3 separate regions of the Homo sapiens genome follow, and all the other regions are linked to region 2. The links are contacts of gene promoters, found by promoter capture Hi-C in blood cells and fetal thymus (Javierre and others, 2016). All regions are on one chromosome and are shown on one strand. The core of a region is centred on a gene start or on the middle of the fragment in contact, and the rest is flanking DNA. Distances in the headings are between cores, read along the strand shown.

Region 1 (4,383 bases), core at 1,346-3,845, 480 kb before region 2:
AGGACACACTATGCAGCAACGCAACAACGTTGGCAGCCAGCAGATGACACAATGCAAAATCACATGCAGTGCCTGACAACTCTACAATCTCACCCAGAAATATCTCAACACAACACGTAGCATCTGGCCGTCCAACAGCTGAACAGACCATAGTAAATACTGAACAACACATTTCTTTCTTTCCTTTTTTCGAGATGAAATCTCGCTCCGTCGCCCATGCTGGAGTGCGGTGGCACGATCTCAGTTCACTGCAACGTCTGCCTCCCAGGTTCAAGAGATTCTCCTGCCTCAGCCTCCCAATGAGCTGAGATCACACCCGGCTAATTTTTTTGTATTTTTAGTAGAGATGGGGATTCACCATGTTGTCCAGACTGGTCTCGAACTCCTGACCTCAAGTGATGTGCCCACCTTGGCTTCCCAAAGTGCTAAGATTATAGGCATGAGCCACCGCGCCTGGTCTAGTTTTTGTATTTTTTGTAGATACAGGGTTTCACCATGTCGCCCAGGCCGGTTTCGAATTCCTGAGCTCAAGTGATCCACCACCTTGGCCTCCCAAAGTGCTAGGATTACAGGCGTGAGCCACCATGCCCGGCCAAAACAGCATATTTCAACACAGCACCCAGGACACAATAGCACAGCCCAAAAAACCAGATCTGGAGTTAGATGGACGCGGTTTGAATCCTCGTTGGTCTCTTAGCCTTGGTGTGACTTGGGCAAACTGACTTCCTTTTTCCGAGCCTCAGTCTTCTCATCTGTAAAATGGGCCTGATGGCACTCCTCTCATCCTGGGGCTACTATAAGGAGTCAGTGAGTGTGTGACTGGGAGTCAGTGAAGGGCCTGACCCATTGCAAGGCTGTTACAGATCATGGTGTTGTGGCAGGTTGTAATGCCCCCCAAAAGATGTCCAGGTCCTTATCCTTACAACCTGTGAATTTGTTACCTTACATGGTAAAAAGGACCTTGCAGGTGGGATTAAGTTGAGGATTTTGAGATGAGAAGTTTACTCTAGACTGTCTGGCTGGGCCTAATGTAATCACAGGGATCCTTTTTAGAGGGAGGCAGGAGGGACTGAGTAAGAAAAGATAATGTAGGCTGGGTGTGGTGGGTCACACCTGTAATCCCAGAATATATTGGGAGGTTGAGGAAGGAGGATTGCTTGAGCACAGGAGTTTGAGACTAGCCTGGGCAACATAGCAAGACTCCCTCTCTATAAAAAGTTAAAAGAATGAGTTGAATGTGGTGGCACATGCCTGTAATCCCAGCTACTTGAGAAGCTAAGGCGGGAGAATCAGTTGAGCTCAGGAGGTCAAGGCTGCAGTGAGCCAAGACCATACCACTGCACTCCAGCCTGGGCAACAAGAGTGAAGCTTCATTTCAAACAAACAAACAAACAATCAAACAAGTAAACAAACAGACCCCAAACTATTATTTTACTTCTGGGGCCCAGAATTCCAAAATCAGCTTCACTGGGATAAAGTCAAGGTGTCAGCAGGGCTGGTACCTCCTGGAGCCTTGATAAGAGGATCCATTTCCTCGCCTTTTCAGCTTCTGGTCGCCCCTTTATTCCTTTGTGCGAAGCCCCTTCATCCATCTTCAAAGCACATCACTCCAGTCTCTGCTTCCATCCTCACATTGTCTCTCTCTGGCTCTTCCTGCACTCCTCTTTTTTTAAAATTAATATTGCCACATTATTTTAAATTATGTACAAAGACCTAACATGTCACTCAGGGACCATTTCACCCACTGCTCTATTTAGCCGCCAGTCTCTTCAGCAATGGTGAGGGTTTGGTGTACACATTATTTCATCACCCAGGTAATAAGCATAGCACCCGACAGGTAGTTTTTCGGTCCTCACCCTCCTCCCATCTTACCCTCAAGTAGGCCCTGCTGTTTGTTGTTCCCTTTTTTGTGTCAATGTGTAGTCAATGTTCAGCTCCCACCTATAAGTGAGAACCTGTGGTGTCTGGTTTTCTGTCCCTGCATTAGTTCACTTAGGATAGTGGCTTCCAGCTCCATCTATGTTGCTGCAAAAGACATTATCTTGTTCCTTTTTATGGCTGTGTAGTATTCCATGGTGTATATATACCACATTTTCTGTCTTTCTCCTTCCTTCCTTCCTTCCTTCATTCCTTCTCTCTCTCTCTCTTTCTTTCTTTCAGACAGAGTCTTGCTCTGTTGCCCAGGCTGGAATGCAGTGGTGTGATCTCATCTCACTGCAACTTCTGCCTCCTGGGTTCAAGTGACTTCTCCTGCCTGAGCCTCCCAAGTAGCTGGGAATACAGGTGCCCGCTACTATGCCTGGCTAATTTTTTTGTATTTTTAGTAGAGACGGGGTTTCACCATGTTGGACAGGCTTGGTCTCGAACTACCGACCTCACGTAATCCACCCACCTTGGCCTCCCAAAGTGCTGGGATTACAGGCGTGAGTCACCACGCCCAGCCCACATTTTCTTTATCCAGTCTACCACTGATGGGCATTTAGGTTGATTCCACATCTTTGCTATTGTGAACAGTGCTGCTGTGAACAAAGGTGTGCACGTGTCTTCATGGTAGAACGATTGATATTCCTTTGTGTATATACTCAATAATGAGATTGCTGGGTCGGATGGTAGTTCTATTTTAAGTTTTTTTAGAAATCACCAAACTACTTTTCACAGTGGCTCTTGGCTTAAATTTGGAAGCAGAGGTACACTCCCTTTACACCTGATTTTTAAATTTCTTTTCTCCTTGATCAGATAATATGTTGACACTATCCAAAATTCAAAAGATACAAAATGATGGAAAGTGAAATTTCTTCAACCCAGTTTCCCTTGCCAAGTTGATACTAATGTTACCAGTTTCCAGGTTATTCCATACACAAATATACAAATAGTAACTTACTATATCCACTGTATCTGTCAGGTTGGGTTGGAATTTTTTTTCTTTTTCTTTTAAGACCGTCTCACTCTGTCTTTCAGGCTGCAGTGCAGTAGGGCAATCTTGGCTCACTGCGACCTCTGCCTCCCGGGCTCAAGTGATTCTTGGGCCTCAGCCTCCTGAGTAGCTGAGATTACAGGTGTGTGCCACCACACCTGGCTATTTTTTGTATTTTTAGTAGAGACAGGGTCTTGCCATGTTGGCCAAGCTGGTCTTGAATTCCTGGTCTCATGATCTGCCCACCTCAGCCTCCCAAAGTGTTGGGATTAGAGGTGTGAGCTCCTGGCCATTGTGCTGGGTATTCTATTTGCCCTACCATCTCCACTCTCCACCATGACCTGTCTTTTAGAAGGGTGGCCTCTATAAACTGTACCACCCATGCTCCCTTCACCTCTACATTAAAAAAATTTTTGGGTTTGGCCAATGGAAGTTTGAGAGAAGAGCAATGTCAGATTATTTTGCTTGGCTGTGTGATAGCAATGGTTGTATTCCTCTGCCAGAAACCATGCCCTCCTGCTGGGGGCTCTCTTTTACCCCTATACAATCAGTCTCGGTTTCGGAAACTACTCCCTCTCACTGCACCTTTCAACCTAAGGATGATGATGGCGTCTCCTTATTGTAAGCCATAGAGTGCTTCAACGTCTTGTAGGGTTCTTTCACACTGCCCTCCACTTTGTAAAAAGTCCCTCCATTGGCCAGGCGCGGCGGCTCACACCTGTAATCCCAGCACTTTTGGAGGCCGAGGCGGGCGGATGACGAGGTCAGGAGATCGAGACCTTCCTGGCTAACATGGTGAAACCCTGTCTCTACTAAAAACACAAAAAATTAGCCGGGCGTGGTGGCGGGTGCCTGTAGTTCCAGCTACTCGGGAGGCTGAGGCAGGAGAATGGCCTGAACCCGGGAGGCGAAGCTTGCAGTGAGCTGAGATCGCGCAATTGCACTCCAGCCTGGGCGAAACAGCGAGACTCCGACTCAAAAAAAAAAGTCCCTCCATTAAGCACTCATATTTTTCTGCTGGGGTTCTGATGGACCAAGTCTATCAAATGAATGCATCATAATTTGTTTAACCAATATCTTGGTGCATATGTTGGTTTCCTATTTTTCATTATGTAAACAGTTCTTTGATGAATCTAGGTGATTTTGCACACTTTCTTGTACATCATAGGAGACATTACTAGAAGTGGAGTTAACTGAATCTGAGAGTATGTTCTTTTGTAATTTAGAGAAAAGCATTCACATTACTCTCCTCTGAAGCTGTACCAATTTATAGTTCCACAAACCGTAACTGAGAGTAAGGATTGCTCTGGGAGGCTGAGGTGGTAGTGGATACTAGCCTGGGCCCTATAGCGAGACACCATCTATACAAAAACATTAAAAAAAGTTCTACTACTAGGGTGTGGGAGAATGCACCTGTGGTCCCAGCTGCTTGGGAGGCTGAGGTGGGAGGATTGCCTGAGCCAGGGGGT
Region 2 (4,224 bases), core at 1,695-4,194:
AACAAAACCAAACCACAGAATCATCTTTAACCCAACTTTTTATACGATGCCCCAGTTCCCCATAACTTTGCACACAAGCTTCTGTGTTCAGTTGAATTGTAACTGCTTTTTGTATTTGGAGAGAGTGACTATTGAACTTGAAACCTTTTATTCCGGGCGTCTTGGTAGTTTCTGGTGGGATTCAGTGGGTGAGAGGGAAGAAGGGGAGGTTGGGGGGCTCCTTCCCTTCAGAACTTGAAGTTTCTCCCACTGCCTCCTCTCCAGTGGTCTCCCAGGTGCCAGACCCAAAAGCTTTTCCTACAGTGATACCCTTTATTTTTACTTCCCCTTGACTCATATGTTTTAACATGATTTTAACAAACTGCACTTATTAAGAAATGTGTTTGCCCTGTTTTGTTTGGTTTCGTTTTGTTTTCTTTGAATAAATGACATGGCACCTCCTAGCAGGAAGGAAGCAGGGTTGAAACCCTGAAGTGTTACTGCAGTTGGCCGTTAATTGGGGTGGGGGCCTCTTTAAAGGGAAATTATTTACTCATTCATTAAACAACTTAACTGAGGGATTCATGTGCCTGGCCCCGATTTTGGTGCTAAAAATGCACGCTTAAACAAGGGTCCCTGGTTTAAAATCCACTAGTTCATTTTTAAAGTGCTTCTCTTGTTCTCTACCTCTCACAGTCTAAAATCCCTCCAGGAGTTTTTGAGTAAAGGACATGGAACAGGCCTCTAGGTGGAGGGATGGGTGGGACTGATGGGGCAGAGACCAGGGCTGGTTTGTTTGGCATCATCACTGGGCATCCACAGACCACCTGCCTCAGGCCTGGCCTGTGTGCAGCACGGAGGACAGTTCCTGCCTGTTCTGTGTTTGGGGCTCATGGGGATTCCAGGAGCTTCATGTTTCAGCCAGTGTGTGTGAGCCACCTGCTGTGTTCTTCAGCTGTCCTGGACAGTGCTGGGGACATAGTATGGCCACGGCAGTCCTGGACCCCGTTCTCACAGAGCTCCCACTCCAGAGAGAACAAAGACCTGCCAGCACCAAGTGGTCAGCTGTGAGAGCCTGGGGTGGTGTGCAGGGAGGGCTTCCTGGAGGAGTGAGCCAGGGTAAAAGACTCCAGATTGCATCCCCATGGCCCATCTTCCCCTTCCTTAGCAACCTTATGTCTTCGTTCCCTCATACATGCTGTGTTCCTGGCTCCTTGTGAGAGACAATGCTGGGCCACAGGAGAAGCCAATTCAGCCCCAATCTTCCCTGGTGGGAGCTCAGAGCCTTGTGAAGGGGAGATGGGCAACAAAAACAAGGGAGGGAAACTGACTAGTCTCAGAATCTCGGGTAGGGCATCAGAACGTGAGAAGGAACCAAGGTTGGTGGCTAAAAGGGACCCTAGAATGCGCCAGAGAGGAGGTGGCAGGGCCTTTAGTCTGGAAAGTCCCCTTCCCTTCATGTCCATATGCTGGGCTACAGCGCCCTCTGCTGGCCTCTCCTGGTAATGCCTAGGAATCTGGGTTGGTAAATAGGGACCTCCTTGGCTTTCTTCCACAACTCCAGACCTCAAGGGAATGCAAATGGGGAAGCTCTTCCTCTGTTCTCAGCCAGTTTTTCTCACACGTCTCATCTCCAGTCCCTTGATGCCCACTCCCTTCAGAATAAAGGAGGTCAAGCCACTTACTATGGCTTATGAGGCCCTGCATGGCCTAGCACCTGGTAACATCGCTGGCGCCCTCTCTTTCTGCTCCCCCTTTGAATATCAAATCAGTGTTTATTTTGTTCTGAGGAGCCATAAGTCCTTTTTGGAACCCACAAATGATGCCATGAACCACTGCATTGGAGAATACAGAGGTACATGGAATTTTGCATAAAAATTCATGAGGTTCTCAAAACCTCCACAGCCCAATCATGGCTTTCAAGTTAGAGCTCCTTTCCTATGCCCTGACCGTAGTGAAGTGCTTGCAGCAACCAGAACCGTCCGTACGTGCCATCCTCCTCAAGACTCTTCCCTACCTTCCTCTTAACCCAGCTCCTACTCGTTCTTCAGGTCTTAGCTTGAGGGTACCCTCCCAGAAAGAAGGCTTCCTTGACCCTCCAGCCTGGGGTGGACAGCTCCCTCAGCCCTCTGGATCCATCAAAGCCCTGGCCACTGAGTGACATGTCTGTCTACTCTGCTGGTAACACCTAAATAGAGCCCCACCCATCCCATAGGGAAATAAGGACCAGAGTTGTCTTGTTTCACACCTGTAGATTTCCTCCAGGTCCTGGGAACACAAAATGGGAAGTTCTATCTCACTATCCATCTCATGCCAGCCAGAGACAGGGTATGATGACGGAAGTAAGCCAGGCTGGTGGCTCACGCGCGTAATCCCAGCATTTTGAGAGGCTGAAGCGGGAGGATTGCTTGAGGCCAGGAGTTGGGGACTAGCCTGGGCAACAAAGTGGGACCCCTGGCTCTACAAAAAAATTTTAAAAATTAGCCGGGCGCGGTTGTGCGCGCCTGTAGTCCCAAGTACTCCAAAGGCTGAGGCAGGAGGATCACTTGAGCACAGGAATGTGAGGTTACTTGAACTGTGATCGCGCCACTGCATTCGTCTAGGCGACAAAGCGAGACCCTGTCTCAAAAAAAAAAAAAAAAAAAAGAGTCAAGGCTTAGTAATATTCCTGAATTCCTGAAGGAGTTAAGAAAGGAAAAGGACAAGCGGGGGTCTAAACGAGAGCACGAACCCTCAGCGTATGACGGCTCCAGGCTCCGGGGGAAAGTCCTTTAGCCATCCATCCCAAAATTAAGCACGCTGGGAGCTGGAGTCACAGCAGTGATAAAACGAACAATGATTCTGGTTCCTACTGACTGACAGGAGAGGTTTAAGGGTCTCTCACTCTCCGGGGAGCCCCTTTCCTTCCTGGCTGCGGAGGGCGGAGCCCGAGAGAGGCACGCATGCGCAATGCAACGTCTGCCTTAGGCCCGGAACTTCGGTGCCTGGGCGCAGCGGTGCACCCGGACCCGGAACATTCTCAGGCGAAAGTGTCTCTTGCGTGCGTGGGCCGGAGGTTAGTGTGCGGGGCCCGCCGGGCGGTTGAAAAGTCCGAGAGAATCAGGATGGAGGCCGTGGCGACGGCGACGGCGGCGAAGGAACCCGATAAGGGTGAGATCTTGGTCACGCGCAGGCGGCGGGTGGGTGCGGTTGCGGTGTCTCTAGGAAATGATTCCCCCAGGAACGCGAAGTAGGACTCGTTTTAGGGGGACACCCACCCCCCTCAGCTTTACCGGTCCTCTTCACTACTTTGCCCAGATTATTCCCTCCCTTGTCGCGGGCTGACCTTCTTTTCCTCCATTCCTTCCCCCCGAAATTAACCTCTTCCCAGTTCCAGACCAATCCTTTCCATGTCCCTAATTCATTTCCTTACCAGGCTAACTCTCAAATTAACAGAAACCTCTCTACCCCGGCCTAATTCCTGCATTGCCTCAGACCAGCCCTTCTCAAATTACCTCCTTCCCTGTACCAAGCTGAGCCTTCCCTTGCTCTCTAGACGAATCCTCCTACCTTTCCAGGCTAAACTTCTACCTGCCTCATGCAAACTTATCCCAATCTAACGATTCCTTCATTTCATTGTAACTCCCGTTTCCCCCAAAGTCCGAAATCCAGCCAGGCTCCTTTCAAAGTCCTTACTCAATTTCTGTGCTTTCCCACAACCTTCAAAGTAATCCGACGTCGGGTGAGGTGTGATTGGAAGCGTGGCTCCAACACCACTGGCCAAGAATTGGTAATTGTGGAAGCCAGATGGAGATGATTGGTATATGGAGGTAGGGGGAGAATTGTCGTTGTACTTTCTACTTTTGTGTATGTTTGAAATTTTCTAAAAATAAAAAATTTAACCTAAAAAAAGTCTTAAGGCCGGGTGCAGTGGCTCCCGCTTGTAATCCCAACACTTTGGGAGGCCAAGGCAGGAGAGTTGCTTGAGCCCAAGAGTTTGAGACCAGCCTGGGCAAGAGAGAGAAACCTGATCTCTATAAACATTTAAAAATTAGCCAGGCCTGGTGGCTAGGGAGTAGCTAGGACAAGCTACTCAGGAGACTAAGGTGGGAGTGTCACTCGAATCCTTTGAGATTGCAGTGACCTAAGATTATTACACCACTGCACTCCAGCCTCTGCAGCAGAGTGAGACTTGAGCCCAGGAGTTTGAGACCAGCACTGGCAACATAGCCAGACCCCATCTCTACAAAAAATTTAAAAATTAAG
Region 3 (4,122 bases), core at 69-2,568, 320 kb before region 2:
GTGAAGATAGTCAGAGGCAGGGAAGAAACTCCTTAGCACTAGTTAGAGTGATCAGAAACCAAGAGGACCTGATCGCTGTACCTGCCAGGTCTCAGTTTCTGTCTCCTTCCAACTGACCACCTCTTCCTCTGAGACTCACCAGTTCTGCATCTCTTGCTCCTCCTTCTGTTTCTCCGACCACTTCCACCTGTGGCTGTCACAGAAGGGCGGATGAAGGAGGGGACACTGGAGATAGACTCAGCATCTGCAGGCTTCCAAAGAGAGGGGCTAGGAGATCCACCAACACACCAGCACAAATACACCAGCACACACAGATACACACAATTGGTTCATGTATTGCTAGGTTACAGTTTGCTATGCTACAAAGGCAGTAGGCCAAATTTGATTGAATTGAATAATTCCTTATTTTCATCAGCTTCTCCTTTTTTTTTTTTTTTTTTTTTTTTTGAGATGGAGTATTGCTGTGTCACCCAGGCTGGAGTGCAGTGGTGTAATCTTGGCTCACTGCAGCCTCCACCTCCCAGGTTCAAGTGATTCTCTTGCCTCAGCCTCCCGAGTAGCTGGGATTAAAAGTACCCACCATCACGCCCGGTTAATTTTTGTGTTTTTAGTACAGATGGGGTTTTGCCATGTGGGCCAGGATGGTCTCGAACTCTTGACCTCAATTGATCTGCCCCCCTCAGCTTCCCAACGTGCTGGGATTACAGGTGTGAGCCACCGCACCCAGCCAGCCTCTCAGTTTTGAACATGCACTACCACCACCTCCACAACACACAAATGTAAATGCACTTTCGTATATAAAACTGTATAAATACAAGGAAGCTCATACACATGCAAGGATACACACATAAGCACCCCCAGATTCAACCACAGAAATATACGCCAGTACATTTGCATAAATTCAAACACCCCTTTACATGTAAAAATCATATAAGCACATACAGGGATGCAAGCAGGCATGGACAAATGCATGCAAGCACAGACAAACAGACAAAGCTAAGTAAAAAAGTGCAAGCTCACCTATGCTTACAAAAATAGACATACATATACCCACAAACCCACACACCCACACATTCACTTGCTCACCTGGACTTTGATATCTCTACCACTGTATCCCTGCCAATATCTACAGAGTGGGTAAAGGGATAGGCATCAGGTCACTGGGTTGCCCAAGCAGGAAGTCTGGGTTCCCTAACAACTTTTTCTAAGCTAATGCTCCTGGATGATGATGAAAAAGGAGGTGGGGAATGGATGAAATTTTATAACAGGGTGCAGAGGCAGGGTCAGGATAAAAGGCCCAGTTGGAGGCTGCAGCAGGGTGCAGGGCAGTCAGACCAGGACCATGGAACTCAGCGTCCTCCTCTTCCTTGCACTCCTCACAGGACTCTTGCTACTCCTGGTTCAGCGCCACCCTAACACCCATGACCGCCTCCCACCAGGGCCCCGCCCTCTGCCCCTTTTGGGAAACCTTCTGCAGATGGATAGAAGAGGCCTACTCAAATCCTTTCTGAGGGTAAGACACAGACGAATGGGGTCTGAGGGTGAGCTGCTTCTTGCCTTGGTACTTGGGGAAGCTTCACCAAACAGAATGAGGCAGACTTCCAGAGTCAGGGGTGGCACGGGCATGGTTGGTGAGTACGGAGCATGGTGAAGCATGATGGGTGGTATTATTAGGAGAAAAGCATCAAATTAAATTTAGCAGAGTTTATTTGAGCAAAGAAGTGACTCATGAGTTGGACAGCTCCCTAAACCAGGAAAGACACCACACGGCAGTATGGTCAAGTGGTATTTACAGGCAGAAAAAGGAGGTGACATACAGAAACAGCCTGATTGGCCACAGATCACAGCTTGCCTTACTTGGTCACAATCTGAGCAGTTTGCAGCCTGTGTGGACTGAAAGCCCAGCTGCTCTGATTAGCCAACACTTGGCTACTTGTCACAAGAATATATTCATTTGGGCCAGGTGCAGTGGCTCATGCCTGTAATCCCAGTGCTTTTGGAGGCCGAGGTGGTGGATCACCTGAGGTCAGGAGTTCGAGACCAGCCTGGCCAACATGGTGAAACCTTGTCTCTACTAAAAATACAAATATTAGCTGGGCATAGTGATGCGTGCCTGTAATCTCAGCTACCCAGGAGGCTGAGGAAGGAGAATCACTTGAATCCAGGAGGCAGAGGTTGCAGTGAGCCAAAATCTTACCACTGCACTCCATCCTGGGTGACAGAGTGAGACTCCTTCTCAAAAAAAAAAAAAAAAAAAAGAATATACTCCCAAGTTAGGTTGCAGTTCACTCTACAGAGAGAGCTTTAGGTCAAATTTAATTTAATTAAACAATTCTCCCCTTTTGGTCAGCCTCAAAATTTTGAGATTGACCAAAACCTTGGGCATCAACATTACTTCTGTCACCATCATAATGGACTTGTCTGCTCTCAGTATGGAATTCACAATGGACAATGTCAACGTAGTTGAGTGATTCTTTACCTTTTCTTCATGTTTTTGTTGTTCCCACTGTAATGAGCCCACTGGATGTACAAAGAATGGCTGCATATGAGCATTTAAGACTCTTTTTTTTTCTGAGACAGGGCCTCACTCTGTCAGCCAGGCTGAAGTGCTGTGGCATGATCACGTCTCACTGCAGCCTTGACCTCCCAAGGCTCAAGTGATCCTCCTGCCTCAGCCCCCCAAGTAGCTGGAACTACAGGTGCATGCCACCACGCCCAGCTAATTTTTGTATTTTTTGTAGAGACAGGGTTTTGCCATGTTGCCCAGACTGGTCTTAAACTCCTGGGCTCAAGCAATCCACCTGCCTCGGCCTCCCAAAGTGCTAGGATTACATGTGTGAGCCACCGCACCCGGCCAAGACTCTTGAGAAAATACAACACATCAGGGAGACTGTTATGATGGCTCTCAGGAGGGTAATACGAAGAAAATGAAGTCACTGGGCCTGTAATAAACTTTGAGGAATGTGGACTTGGGGGTATAGATAAGGTCCACTGTCCACAGAGAGAAGAAAGGCTGTTAATAGTCTCTTTTAACTTGAGTGTGTCCATGAACCAAACTGATCAAAATCGAATAATTCGAAGTTCAGACAATAAAGATAGTTCAATAGTATTAGAGTCCAATTGGTCATAGATTTTGTTCAGGGCATGATGGTAATTAAGGACCAGAGCTTGCTATAAAATAACTTGATTTATAGAGACATTCATTTGTAGTTGGCCTGGTAACATATAGTATCCTGGAGACCCACTAGAAGAAACATTAAGAGTAGAAAAGTTTGGGATAGCCAGGCTTGCTGTGTTAGTCCATTCTCACACTGTTATAAAGACATACCTGAGACTGGGTAATTTATAAACAAAAGGGATGTAACTGACTCACAGTTCCACATGGCTGGGGAGGCCCCAGGAAAATACAATTCATGGCAAAAGGTGAATGAGAAGCAGGAAACTTACAATCATGATGGAAGGTGAAGGAGAAGCAAGTACCTTCTTCACAAGGTGGCAGGAAAAAGAGAGAGAGCCAAGGGGGAAGAGCCTCTTATAAAACCATCAGATCTTGTGAGAACTCACTCACTATCACAAGAACAGCATGGGGGAAACCGCCCCCAGGATCCAGTTACCTCCTACTAGGTCCTTCCCTCCACACCTGGGGATTACAATTCAAGATGAGATTTGGGTGAGGACACAGAGCCAAACCATATCACTTACCATCACCATTCAGGATGCTTGCAAACCAACTGCTAGCTGCACCTGTAAACACATATCTGTTTCTTTCCCCTGAGAAATGTCCTTAGTGTATTTGTGGCAGTGTCTAGAGAAACAGCAGTGTCAGCCGCATTTTAAATTAAGTTATCTGCACTAGTGAATTCACTGGAAAGATAAGAGCAATATTTGGTTTTCTTCAGCACCATACACAAGCCTCCAAGATGGGCATAGAGGAGATCTAAAATTGCGTGATGTTCCATTAAGCGTTTTTGTTGCCACAAATGTTCTCATCTCAGTTTGGAGAGTGGCTTCTACCCATCTGAACTCCTTGGAGGTTCAATTAGCTGCAAAATTCAAGATGTCCCTTAATGTATAACTTAGCCTCAGATTCCATACAACTGTCACCCAAATACCACCAAGAAT

Evidence for each region. The method cuts DNA at HindIII sites, captures the fragments that hold promoters and counts their contacts. A CHiCAGO score of 5 or more calls a contact.
Region 1: a fragment that was not itself captured here is called in contact with the fragment with the promoter of CCDC97 in region 2 in 1 of 17 cell types (naive CD4 T cells); the score reaches 5.9 in naive CD4 T cells.
Region 3: the fragment with the promoter of CYP2B6 here is called in contact with the fragment with the promoter of CCDC97 in region 2 in 4 of 17 cell types (naive CD8 T cells, non-activated CD4 T cells, total CD4 T cells and 1 more); the score reaches 9.0 in naive CD8 T cells.

What each region holds. Positions count from the first base shown.
Region 1 is chr19:40,827,327-40,831,709 of GRCh38, forward strand. No RefSeq gene overlaps it. Among named protein-coding and RNA genes, the nearest start is that of CYP2A6, 21 kb to the right of the region's middle. RefSeq lists an enhancer at 1-57. The HindIII fragment of the contact is 2,459 bases long and covers 1,367-3,825 here.
Region 2 is chr19:41,307,228-41,311,451 of GRCh38, forward strand. It overlaps CCDC97 (coiled-coil domain containing 97), which reads left to right and starts at 2,945. Exons shown (of 5, transcript NM_052848.3): 1 at 2,945-3,129. The coding sequence starts at 3,084. It overlaps LOC105372401 (a long non-coding RNA gene), which reads right to left and starts at 2,822. Exons shown (of 2, transcript XR_935968.4): 1 at 2,711-2,822; 2 at 312-2,598. It overlaps HNRNPUL1 (heterogeneous nuclear ribonucleoprotein U like 1), which reads left to right. Exons shown (of 15, transcript NM_007040.6): 15 at 1-560. RefSeq lists enhancers at 1,538-1,717, 2,991-3,280. The HindIII fragment of the contact is 19,818 bases long and covers 290-4,224 here.
Region 3 is chr19:40,989,964-40,994,085 of GRCh38, forward strand. CYP2B6 (cytochrome P450 family 2 subfamily B member 6) reads left to right here and starts at 1,319. Exons shown (of 9, transcript NM_000767.5): 1 at 1,319-1,513. The coding sequence starts at 1,343. RefSeq lists promoters at 1-1,358, 1-1,324 and a cis regulatory region at 1,061-1,084. The HindIII fragment of the contact is 6,148 bases long and covers 1-1,572 here.